2 separate regions of the Homo sapiens genome follow, and region 2 is linked to region 1. Evidence: promoter capture Hi-C in human tissues and cell types (Jung and others, 2019). All regions are on one chromosome and are shown on one strand. The core of a region is centred on a gene start or on the middle of the fragment in contact, and the rest is flanking DNA. Distances in the headings are between cores, read along the strand shown. Region 1 holds the start of FBN3 (fibrillin 3). Region 2 holds the start of TIMM44 (translocase of inner mitochondrial membrane 44).

Region 1 (5,968 bases), core at 1,852-4,351:
AATTTTTTTATTTATTTTTATTTTATTTATTTTTTTTTTGAGATGGAGTCTCGCTCTGTCGCCCATACTGGAGTGCAGTGGCACCATCTCGGCTCACTGCAAGCTCTGCCTCCCGGGTTCACACCATTCTCCTGCCTCAGCCTCCCGAGTAGCTGGAACTGCAGGCGCCCACCACCATGCCCAGCTAATTTTTTGTATTTTTAGTAGAGACGGGGTTTCACCATGTTAGCCAGGATGGTTTTGATCTCCTGAGCTCGTGATCCGCCCGCCTCAGCCTCCCAAAGTGCTGGGATTACAGGTGTGACCCACCGCGCCCAGCAATTTTTTATATTTTTAGTAGAGATGGGGTTTCACTGTGTTAGCCAGGATGGTCTTGATCTCCTGACCTCGTGATATGCCCAACTCGGCCTCCCAAAGCGTTGGGATTACAGGCGTGAGCCACCATGCCCAGCCTAAATGTCCCTTCTTAACAGTGTGATGTAATAAGGGTACAGTGGGGGGTGACACTGTCTGTGATACCACATCAATAACTGGCAATAACATAACAGACCAGGGTGGCACCATGGGAAGTCTGAAACTACAGCACGCGGTGTGGACAGTAGCTTGGGTTGGGGGCTGTGAACAACCAATGCCCACTATCTGCCGTTTTCGAGCACTTCAGTTGCGGTGACTTCCAACAGCTCCACATCCTGGTCTTGCCACACCCTCCGGCTTCCTTCTCCCCTCTCTTCTGGAGGGCAGGTAGGGAGACTTCTAGGACTGAGTCGCTCCCTGGCCCACAGTTCTTCCAGGAAAGCCCTCCTCCAGACTTAGCCATGGCAACAGTGGCTGTGCAGTGTCCCTGGGATGGGACAATCTCTCCCCACCTTTTGCACCTATGCTGGGCTGCTTCTAGGGCACCCGGTGCTTGTCCCCGTGCCCATGTAAGATTCATTTGTTGCAGAACAAATCTGGGTGGACCTTGGCAGAGGAGCCTGGAAAGAGGTGTCCAAGGTGGCCGGGGAAACTGGTTTGTCCACAATAGCCCCTGGGCCCACCCTCCAACAGGAACCCCACCCCCCTGTCTCTGCTGGGCCACCTCCATCCTGGGGTTCCCTCCCCAGTCCACCCTCCCCATGCCCCAGCACCCCACCTGACCCTTCTCACAGGGTCCACGGGCCCCTCCCTTGGCCAGGATGACTGGATCTTGTCCCTGAAGTCGGCGTCTGTCCCATGCTCCCCGAGCCCAGCCCTGGGGCCCTCAATGCTCCCCGGACACAGTCTAAGACCTGGAAGTGGAGCCTTGGGAGAACCTCCCCTTTCTGTGAGTCCACCGTGTCTCCCCTCAGAGGTGGGGGGGGAGCCTGCTGAGGGCTCCTCGGTGCTTCTAGCCTCTTCTTATGTTTCCTGCTTTCCTCTTGCTCCCTCCCCTTCTCCTCTCTCCTAAAGTTCCAACCTCACTCCATCCAGGCATGTTTGTTCTAAGTTCTCTCCTTCTCCAGGCCTTTGCCTGTTCTGTTTCCTCCAGCAAACTCCTATGCAACTGTCAAAACCTACTTCAAAAATCCCCTTCTGGGCCAGACTCGGTGGCTCACGCCTGTAATCTCAGCACTTTGGGAGGCCGAGGCAGGTGGATCACGATGTTAGGAGTTCGAGACCAGCCTGGCCAACATGGTGAATCCCCGTCTCTACTAAAGATACAAAAAATTTACCGGGCATGATGGCACAAGCCCGTAATCCCAGCTACTCGGAAGGCTGAAGCAGGAGAATTGCTTGAACCTGGGAGGTGGAGGTTGTAGTGAGCCAAGATCGTGCCATTGCACTCCAGCCTGGGTGACAGGGCAAGACTTTGTCTCAAAAAACAAACAAAACAAAACATAAACAAAATCCTCTCCCTCCCTGCAAATTGTGAGTTTACCCTATTGAACTCCCAAAGCTGACTTGCTGAATATACTCCCACCATAGCACTTCCGGAATGGAGACAGGGTCTCCAATTTTTGGAGATAGGGTCTTGCTCAGTTGCCCAGGCTGGAGTGCAGTGGCACAATCATAACTCACTGCAGCCTCAACCTCCTAGGCTGAAGCAGTCCTCCTGCCTCAGCCTCCTGAGTAGCTGGGACTATAGATGCATGCCACCAGGCCTGGCTAATTCTTTTTAATTTTTTTTTTTTTTTTTTTTTTAGAGATGGGGTCTCACTATGTTACCCAGGTTAGTCTCGAACTCCTGGTTTCAAGCCCACTGGGCTTACTTATTTATTAGATTCCGGAAGTACTGTGGTGGGGGGATATTCAGCACAATCAGCTTTGGGAGTTCAATAGAGTAAACTCACAATTTGCGGATAGGGAGGGAATTTTTGAACTGGACTTTGACAGATGCGTAGGAGTTTGCTGGATGGAGTAACAGCTTCAGGCCCAACGCACAGCTTCTGACAGATCCCCATGTTAAGGGTCTATTCTCAAAGGTATGAAGGTAGTGGAAAAGCCTAGAAATTTTTGTTTGGAGTACTGACAACAGATAGGGAGCCAAAATTCTTGTCTGGTCCCTTTGGTAGGTGGACAAACAGGTTCAAAGAGATTTGAAAGTTTACACCGTTTGAATTGTTAACCTCTTCATTTTGAGAACCAGATGAAAAACCTGGGCCCTTCTCCCTGGGAAATACAGCTTTGCCCAATGTTTTGTCAACATATTTAGGGGCCCCTGATCTCAGCCTAGTTAAGAATCCAGGCTCCAAGAGCCAGGTGAGTTTCCAACGTCACTCTCGCAATTCTCCTTGCTCGAGGGAGGGGGTGGCGGCTTGGGAGGCCCTGAGAGGGCCGCCCAGGTGAGTCCCGGGACTTCTCTGCCCAGGCTGTCGTCCAGGCCCTCCAAAAGTCAGAGCCCCACCTCCACCTTAGTCTCGATCCGAAAACGCGGCCCCGGCAGCCCCTACTAGGCGCCCCCAGCCCGCCCTCACATCCCTCCAGTCCATCGGAGTTTTTCACTCGGAGCCCCGGACCCTCCCCCGAGCCGCAGCCTCTCTCCCCGCCCCGGATCGGAGCCCCCCGTCCCCGCCCCGGGAGCTAAGAGGTGCAAACGCGCCCTCCTCCAACTCCTCCCGCCCCCAACTCCCCCCCGAGTGGCAGCTCTGGGCTGGGAACGCGGCGGGGTCGGCCTCTCGGCTTTGCGTTCCCGCCCCGGGTCCCCGGCGCCGCAGGAGCCCGCCCTGCAGCGCTGAGTCCCGCGCGTCCGCCTGCCGTGCCCGCCTCCACGCGCGCCGCCTCGCAGGTAGGTGAAGGCGCGGGGCCAGCGGCGGGGCGAGATCGCGGGCGCTGAAGGGTGGAGAAGGCGGGGGCGGGGGGGCCGGCAGGGGGAGGGGGAGAGGATTCCTTTGTTCGCAGCCGGGCAGCCCCGGGCCCAGCCCCCTCCCCTCTCCGCCTTCTAGTGGCGCCCGCCGCAGTGGGGAGTGGGGGCGCGGGGACCCGGCGGGAGGGGCTCGGCCGGGGCGCGGGGCCCCTGACCCCACAGGTGAGGGCGGAGCCAAGCGTGGTCGCGGCCGGGGGCCCTGCCGGGTGGAGATCGCGCCCCGCGGGCTCCGGGGGCGCCCCCTCCCCGTCGGCGAAGCTTGGTATCCCTCGCTGTTTGGCCCTCAGCCTCCACACCCCGTGCCGGGCGCGCCTTCTCTGCTCATTCATTCCACAAACTCCAGGGTGTGGCTCGCAGAAGCAGCGGTGTGTAGGGGGGACCGAGGCAAATCAGGCCAGAGACTCCCCCCACCTAATTCCCCCACCCGACCCGAGGCAGGGGGCTGGGGCGGAGGGAGTGGGGGAGGAGGGCTTGCAAGCCCCGAGGCTGCTTGGAGTCCACGGAGCCTCAGAGTGCGGACTGACCCGGACAACTGAGAAGAAAAAGAGGGCGCCCCTCTCCAGCCAGCCAACCCTCCAACGTTGACAGGGGTCTCTCCCTTCTCCGGGGCCTTTGGACAACCAGGTTGGCCCAGAGAGGGGCGTGGCCAAGACCACACAGCAGGGCTCCCCGCCCATTCTCCACCTAGGGCCGGTTCCTTTCCTCCCTGGAACCTGAATGGAACAGGAAGGCCACTTGGTCTGGCTTCTCTCCCTCAAGTATTTTGCCTCCACCCTCCAAACGGTCGTCTCCTGTCCCGGTCTTCTCCCTCCCGTCCTTCATGGCCCAGGAAAGACCCAGCCAAGGGGGGCAGGAGCGAGTTCCGTTCCTGATCTTCTTCCCCTCCTTCTTCTCTTCGTGGGCTTAAGCTCCGGCTTAGCCCCTCACTCATGGTGTGATGGCCTTAGTTTGTGCATCTGTGAAATGGGCACAGAAGCGGTCCCTTCCCTGCTGGGCACAGGGTTACTCTCTGCATTGGGAAGTTCCAGCCCCTGCCTGGGCCCCCTGCCCAGGGAGGCATCCAGCCCTGACCTGGGAGCAGTGAACAGTCAGAGGAGGCTTCCTGGAGGAGGTGTGATGTTAGAAAAGGGTCTTGCGGCTAAGGGTGCACAGCCCAGGCAAGACCGGCGTGGGATGTGGAGGCGAGGGGACACAGGGCCAGGTGGGGCCAGGCATTGCAGGAGTGGGGGTATCTGTGTCACAGAGGGACAGTGGGGTTGTTGCCTTCCACGACTTACCATCTTCCTCCTACCCTGGACGCTCTCTGGGCTCCACCGTCCCAGCTAGAACTTTGGGAATCTCCTCAATGCCCTCCACCTCCCACGACATGAGCCTCCCATTCCTCTCCTCTCTCTCCCATCTGGACAGCCCCCAGCCTTCTGACACCCTGTTTCCCCCCCGGGACCCTGCTGCCCTTCCCCACACCACCTAACATGCATTTCTGACCTTGCTCCTCCCACTCAAAGCTTTTCAAGGGCTCTTCATTGTCCTTGACGAATGAGCAAAAGCTGCATGACACTGCTATGCCCACTCCTGCAACGCCTGGCCCCACCTGGCCCCACCTGGCCCTCTCTCCCCTCCCTTCCACTTCCCACTCCCGTCTTGCCTTGGCTGTGCACCCTCAGCCCCAAGACCCTTCTCTAACATCACACCTCCTCCAGGAAGCCTCCTCTGACTGTTCACCGCTTCCCGGTTGGGGCTGGATGCCTCCTTGGGCTCCCAGAGGCCCCGGGGCTGCCCCATTTGGCAACCACCCTGCCCTCCTCGTTGTGTTGGGTCCCCCATGGCTAGGGTGGGGGGCTCATCTAGGGCTGACTCTGCTTCCTCTCCGCAGCCTCCAGGGGACACGCCATGACTCTGGAGGGTCTGTATTTGGCAAGGGGCCCCCTGGCCCGGCTCCTGCTGGCCTGGTCGGCCCTGTTGTGCATGGCAGGTGGCCAAGGCCGCTGGGACGGGGCCTTGGAGGCTGCAGGTCCTGGACGTGTGCGGAGGCGGGGCAGCCCAGGCATCTTGCAGGGGTGCGTGGTACCTGGGATGCTGGGAGACCCCTTCGGTGTGGATTGGGCTGTCCTGGGGCCAGCGGAATACCCGGGGGGATGTCCACACGGGCAGGGGCTCACCAGACCCATCTCGCTGTCCCCGAAGGCCGAATGTGTGCGGCTCCCGGTTCCATGCCTACTGCTGTCCAGGCTGGAGGACATTCCCTGGCAGGAGCCAGTGTGTCGTACGTGAGTGCTACCGCCGTCTGGAGGTGGGGGGGCACAGGCCGGGGACACTCTTACCTGCCTGCAGGTTCAGCTCTGTTTACACGGGGACTTAGCCAGGGACCTCTGGCTGAACCACAGGAATGGCCCTTGCATCTGCGTCTGTCCTCAGGGTTCCAGGCCAACCTGCCATGTTCATTTCCTTTGCCCTACAACCTCCTTGTGTCTGTCTGTCTCTCTGGTTCCCTTGCTTTGTCTCTGCCTCTCTCTATTCATCTCTGCTCATGTCTCTCTCTGTTGGTTTCTTTTCTTTATTATTATTATTTTTAGAGATGGGGGTCTCTGTGTTGCTCAGGCTGGTCTCAAACTCTGGCCTCAAGCGATTTTCCCATCTCAGCCTCCC
Region 2 (5,753 bases), core at 481-2,980, 210 kb after region 1:
CCACGGATCCTGGCTTAAAGGAGTCTTCTATCTCCACTTTATCTTTGGGTCTTTGACATGCTTATATGACACACTGCCTCTGAGTGTCCAATGCTGTAGTTTTCTTTCTTTCCTTTCTCTCTCTCTCTTTCTTTCTTCTTCTTTTTTTTTGACACAAGGTCTCTCTCTGTTGCCCAGGTAGTGTAGTGTAGTGTAGTGTAGTGTAGTGGCACGATCACGGCTCACTACAGCCTTAACTTCCCGGGCCTCAACGATCCTCCCATCTCAGCCTCCTGAGTAGCTGGGACTACAAGCACATGCTACCACGCCAAGCTAATGTTTTGTATTTGTTGTAAAGAAGAGGTCTTCACTATGTTGCCCAGGCTGGTCTCAAACTCTTGGGCTGGAGAGATCCTCCCGCCTCAGTGTCCCAAAGTGCTGGGATTATAGGCATGAGCCACCGCGCCCGGCCAAACTCCGTACTTTCAACCACAACTAAGAATCCATATTTCTAGCCCAGACCTTATTCTTAGCAACACACCTGTGTACACCAACCGCTTAACTAGTTTGCTCCTCTTGGCATCAAGACATCTCGAACAAAGCCAGAGTGGAAGCCCTCATCTCTTACCCCCACCTTGAGGGGGAGCTCCTGAGATGGAGAACACAAGTCTATCCATCGCAGAAGCCAGGAATGCATGCTCTCCGGGGCCAAGCTGCCTCCCTTTGAAATAATGAAGTCCCATAAACCCATATCACAGGTTAGTAATGCAAAAAGACCGGGTGCGGTAGCTCACGCCTGTAATCCCAGTGACTCAGAGGCTGAGGCAGGAGGATCGCTTGAGCTTGGGAATTGGAGGCTGCAGTGAGCTAGATTACGACACTGCACTCTAGCCTGGGTGACAGAGCAAGCCTCTGGCTCTATAAAAAAAAAAAAGGATCCAATAAGACAAACAGCAACAGCAACATACATTAGCTCTCCCAGGGGACCAACCCTCCTCCTCATACCCGGATTGCATGGCCATGTTAAAATACCGCCACCTGGTGGCGGCATTCTTCGAATGGAAAATAGCATCTGGGGTGCTGAAATGACAAAGGCCTGAGCGTCTTCAGATCAGAGTGTCAGTTCACACTGAATCGAAGTAGGACTGGACCACAGTCAGCCCGCTCTCAGCTTCCTCTTCTTATTCGGGGTCAAAACCAACAGGCGTCTTCCCAAAGCGCCGCACAAGAGTGGGCTCCTTCGCTTTCTCGGAGCGACTCACTTGCTGGTCTCTCAGCCATTGTCAATCAATCAGTCATTGCAGGGGCAGCCATAGACAATTACTCTGGAGCTGGTCCGCCGGTCAATCAGAATCCAATCGAATCCGTCCTTGTGGTCGGTGGATCCACGTGCCTGTACCACCTGCCACCAGCGCCCGGCGCGTTCTGTAGCCGAATCACCGCAAGTGACGGAATACACGCCCCTGGGCTCCGCCCCCTCGTAGTCGCGCCCAATCACAGATCTGACCCTCCCAGGAGTGCCCTCCCCCGGGCCACATCCAGTCACGGGCCCCGTCCTTCCAAAACACTGCCCTATCAGAGGTCAAGCTCTCTAGGCATTCCCTACCCTTTTAATGCCCCGCCCTATGACGGACCCAATCGGAGGGCTCTCCCTACCCGAAACCCCGCTCCTGGAGCGGCTTTTCTCAGGCTTGCGCGGCTCTAGGCCGAAGCGGCGGATGACGCAACCGGGCCGCGCCGCGAGAAGGTCACACGATTCTCCAACATGGCGGCGGCGGCCCTGCGGAGTGGCTGGTGCCGCTGTCCACGGGTGAGCGGCGGTGCGGCGCTGGCAGGGCGAGCTTAGGGGTCTTCTGGGCCTTCGGCCACCAAGGCTTTCTTCTCAGACCCTTGGCCTTCGCGACCCTTGCTTGGGCTCCTTAGAAAGCTTGGGGTTAGATCTTTGGGTAGCAGAGGCCAGGACAGGGGGCACAGAGCGTGGCCTGAGGGCGGGGACCGAGCTTACCGGGCAGGGGGCGGCGATGCGCGGGACCTGGGAGGGAGCTGATCACCCTTCGCCCTCTGATCAGACTCCACGTATACAGGAGAGAGAATGGTAGCCGGGGCGGCGGCGTCCCGTGGAAAAAAGTAGAGGGGAAGGCAAAAAAACGTGAAATTCACAGCTCGCGGTTAAATGCCAAGTTCTCTACCGAGAGCATTTCTTGTCTCGTTTCTTCTAACGTTCATTGTGGATGTGCGAGAGGTGGTTCGCGCCCTAGCAGGCTCTTGGGTCCACAGGGCAGTGGCAGTCAAGACGTGTAAGGCGCACTCAGAAAGTAGTACTTCATATTGCTCGTGCTCTTCGTTTTTTCTTTTTTCTCTTTTTTTTTTTTTTTTGAGACAGAGTTTCGCTCTTGTCGCCCAGTCTGGAGTGCAATGGCGCGATCTCGGCTCACTGCAACTTCTGCCTCCTTCTGCCTCCGGGTTCAAGCGATTCTCCTGCCTCAGCCTCAGGTGGATCACCTGAGGTCAGGAGTTCGAGATCCACTGGCCCACATGGTGAAATCCCATCTCTACTAAAACCCCATCTGTACTAAAAATACAAAAAAATTAGCCGGGCATGGTGGCGCGCTCCTGTAATCCCAACTACTTGGGAGGCTGAGGCAGGAGAATCACTTGAACCCGGCAGGCGGAGATTGCAGTGAGCCGAGATCCTGCCACTTTACTCCAGCCTGGGCAACAGAGGGAGACTCCGTCTCAAAAAAAAAAAAAAAAGTTATCCTCAAGTAAATACAGGAGATAGTAGGCACCTGTGTAAGTTTGGGATGTTGCATAGGGTTCTCAGAGGTAGGAGGCAGAGAACAGAGAGAAAAACGGCCCAGGAAATGTGGAAATGGTGGAGAAGTTGTACCTGGTCTTTTGACATCAACACGCCAGGTTCTGTGCTGGGTGACAGGGTGCCGAGCTGAACAGGACCTGCACAGAGCTTTTTTTTTTTCCCCCAATTTTTTATGGAGGCAGGGTCTAGCTATGTTGCCCAGGCTGGTCTCAAACTCCTGAGCTCAAACGATCCTTCCGCCTCAGCCTCCCAAAGTATCGGGATTACAGGCATGAGCCACCAGCTCAGTGCCTGCACAGAACTTAAGGCAAGATCTCGGCTCACTGCACCCTCCACCTCCCGGGTTTAAGCAATACTACAGGTGTGTGGGACTACAGGTGTGTGCCACCACGCCCGGCTAATTTTTGTATTTTTGGTAGAGACGGGATTTCACCATGTTGGCCAGGCTGATCTCGAACTCCTGACCGGGTGATCCTCCCACCTCAGCCTCCCAACGTGTTGGGATTACTGGCGTGAGCCACCGCGCCCAGCCAGCAAGTGCCTTTTACATGAGATCAGCCCAGTCTTTGCCCAGAGCGACTCCCCTAAATTACTCTGTTTATAGCTCAACCCTTGAGGAGGACATTGTAGGTTTATTCCAGAGTTGTCCCTGGGGCAACACATTATCGATGTTTGTGTCTGAAAAATCCAGTTCTCTCATCTTTGGAGGCTGGCAGAAATGGGGTGGGCTCGCAAGAGAAGACTGCTTGCCACTAGCATAGAAGCTTAGAGTGCCTACTTTCAGACTAAGGGATTAAATTGTACATTTAGCCTTCTTCCCCCCATGGGTTGGCATTTCCTGGGACCTGTCCGTTTTCCCCCAGTTTCAGGGGCACGAGGATAGATGTAGGCCCTGGAGGTACAGACACAGCATTTTCTCTTTCCACCAGCTTCTGCTTGCTTCTCAGACTTTGGGAAGATTACAGAGTGCCCGGCATGCATCAGGCATAAGATACAAATTGGCCAGTGAGGCCAGGTGCAGTGGCTCATGCCTGTAATCCCAGCACTTTGGAAAACCGGGGGAGGGGTGGATCACCTGAGGTCAGGAGTTCGAGACCAGCCTGGCCAACATGGCAAAACCGCTTCTCTCCTAAAAATACAAATATTAGCCGGATGTGATGGCGCATACCTGTAATTCCAGCTACTCGGGAGACTGAGGCAGGAGAATCGCTTGAACCCAGGAGGCATAGGTTGCAGGGAGCTGAGATCGCAGCACTGCACTCTAGCCTGAGACTCCGTCTCAAAAAAAAAAAAAAAATGGCCAGTGAGTTGCAGGTGACCCTGCTGTTTTGTGTGTGGTCTGCTTACTTCTCAGTCAACCTCTTGTTAGAATGGATCTTTCTCTTCTCTCCCCCCAATTAGAGATGCCTCGGCAGTGGAATCCAATTTCTTTCCAGCCACAACCTACCCCATGGGTCGACCTATCAGATGCGCCGGCCGGGCGGAGAGCTGCCACTGGTGAGTGACTCAGGATGCTCGGGCCAGCAGACACAGGGGAGGCCCGAAAATTCAGATCCCATTGGCAGGAGGGAGGGGTGGGGCTGTAGAGGTGGCTCGTACCATCTCGGTGGTGGGCCTTCTGTGTCCGGGGCTTTCAGAATGACAGATCCCAGTGTGCCTGGCCTTCTCGGTCCCAGAAACACTTGACCTGCCTCTTGCTTGATGTCGTAAGGGGATAAGGTGCTGTCAGAATAGCCCTTTATGTTGGCTCTAATGCTTGGAAGAGACCCCTGTATTGAACTGAATTCTACTTCCCTGTGACCTCTGCCCGTGGGTACCTCACCAAGCATAGCTGTTTCCTTTTCTAGAAGATAGCCCTTTGATCATTGGTACAGAGTCACCTTGTCACAACCAGACCTCAGTTTCTCCTGGTCATTCCTCTTCAACTGTGCTTCTGTTGGTGTCTCAGCATCGTGAGGACAGAAGCCCAAAACCTGACTCCCTTCCCCAGACCTGTACATTCGGGCAGCGCGTACATTCTGTCTCCCTCTCTCTCTGCGCCCAGAGCCTCAGCTCAGCTGCCTCCTTGGAGGCAGCTACCTACCTCTCCAGTCCTGTCCTGGGGCCATCGTGGGTGTGGGACAGGACCTGTGACTCTTTCCCTTTCTTGTCTAGTCCCCCGCCACACACTCACTCCCATGGTTTGTAGCCCAAGAGTCTCTGGTAGGGCTGCGATAAGGTTGTGTGGTCCTGGATGATTTTACTTAGAACCTGGGTTTCCCCTGGAGAAAGGCTGGCCAGGGTGGCATCTGAATGGGACTGCAGCCTGCTGACAGGAGGCCTGGCCACCTGTCCTGGGGAGCAGCACTGGGCTTTTTTTTTTTTTTAAGATAGGGTCTCACTCTGTGGCCCAGGCTGGGGTGCAGTGGCACTATCACGGCTCACTGCAGCCTTGAACTCCTGGGCTTAAGCGATCCTCCCACCTCAGCCTTCTGAGTAGCTGGGACCACAGGTGTGTGACTCCACGGGGCCTGAGCACCAGGCTGGATGCAGCTTTCTCTTGTAGCTTGACAGGAGCCAGGGAGGGGGATCCCACCTGGAGCTGGTATACCCAACACAGCTGTGGAAAAGTTGACCACAGGCGGCCCCTTCCGCCTGATTGGATTATTGTATGATCATTCATTAAACTGTTTCTCTGTTGTTTTTTTGAAACAGAGTCTCACTCTGTCGCCCAGGCTGGAGTGCAGGGGCGAGATACCGCTCACTGCAACCTCCACCTCCCGAGTTCAAGCAGTTCTCCTGCCTCTGCCTCAGTAGCTGGGACTACAGGCAGGCGCCGCCACACCTGGCTAATTTTTGTATTTTTAGTAGAGACAAGGTTTCACCATGTTGGCCAGGCTTGTCTCGGACTCCTGGCCTCAAGTGATCCGCCCACCTCGGTCTCCCAAAGTGCTAGGATTACAGATATGAGCCACTG

Evidence for each region. Contacts are between HindIII fragments. The study calls those that stand out against the background at their distance.
Region 2: a contact is called between the fragment with the promoter of TIMM44 here and the fragment with the promoter of FBN3 in region 1, in 1 of the 25 tissues and cell types used here (lymphoblastoid cells).

The regions. Positions count from the first base shown.
Region 1 is chr19:8,146,725-8,152,692 of GRCh38, reverse strand. It overlaps FBN3 (fibrillin 3), which reads left to right and starts at 3,101. Exons shown (of 64, transcript NM_032447.5): 1 at 3,101-3,244; 2 at 5,196-5,379; 3 at 5,507-5,589. The coding sequence starts at 5,213. RefSeq lists enhancers at 3,944-4,914, 4,915-5,886. The HindIII fragment of the contact is 21,800 bases long and covers 1-4,204 here.
Region 2 is chr19:7,939,643-7,945,395 of GRCh38, reverse strand. TIMM44 (translocase of inner mitochondrial membrane 44) reads left to right here and starts at 1,730. Exons shown (of 13, transcript NM_006351.4): 1 at 1,730-1,789; 2 at 4,199-4,294. The coding sequence starts at 1,745. RefSeq lists enhancers at 536-1,078, 1,079-1,622, 1,627-1,996, 1,623-2,165, 2,166-2,709 and a silencer at 1,527-1,596. The HindIII fragment of the contact is 7,251 bases long and covers 1-2,734 here.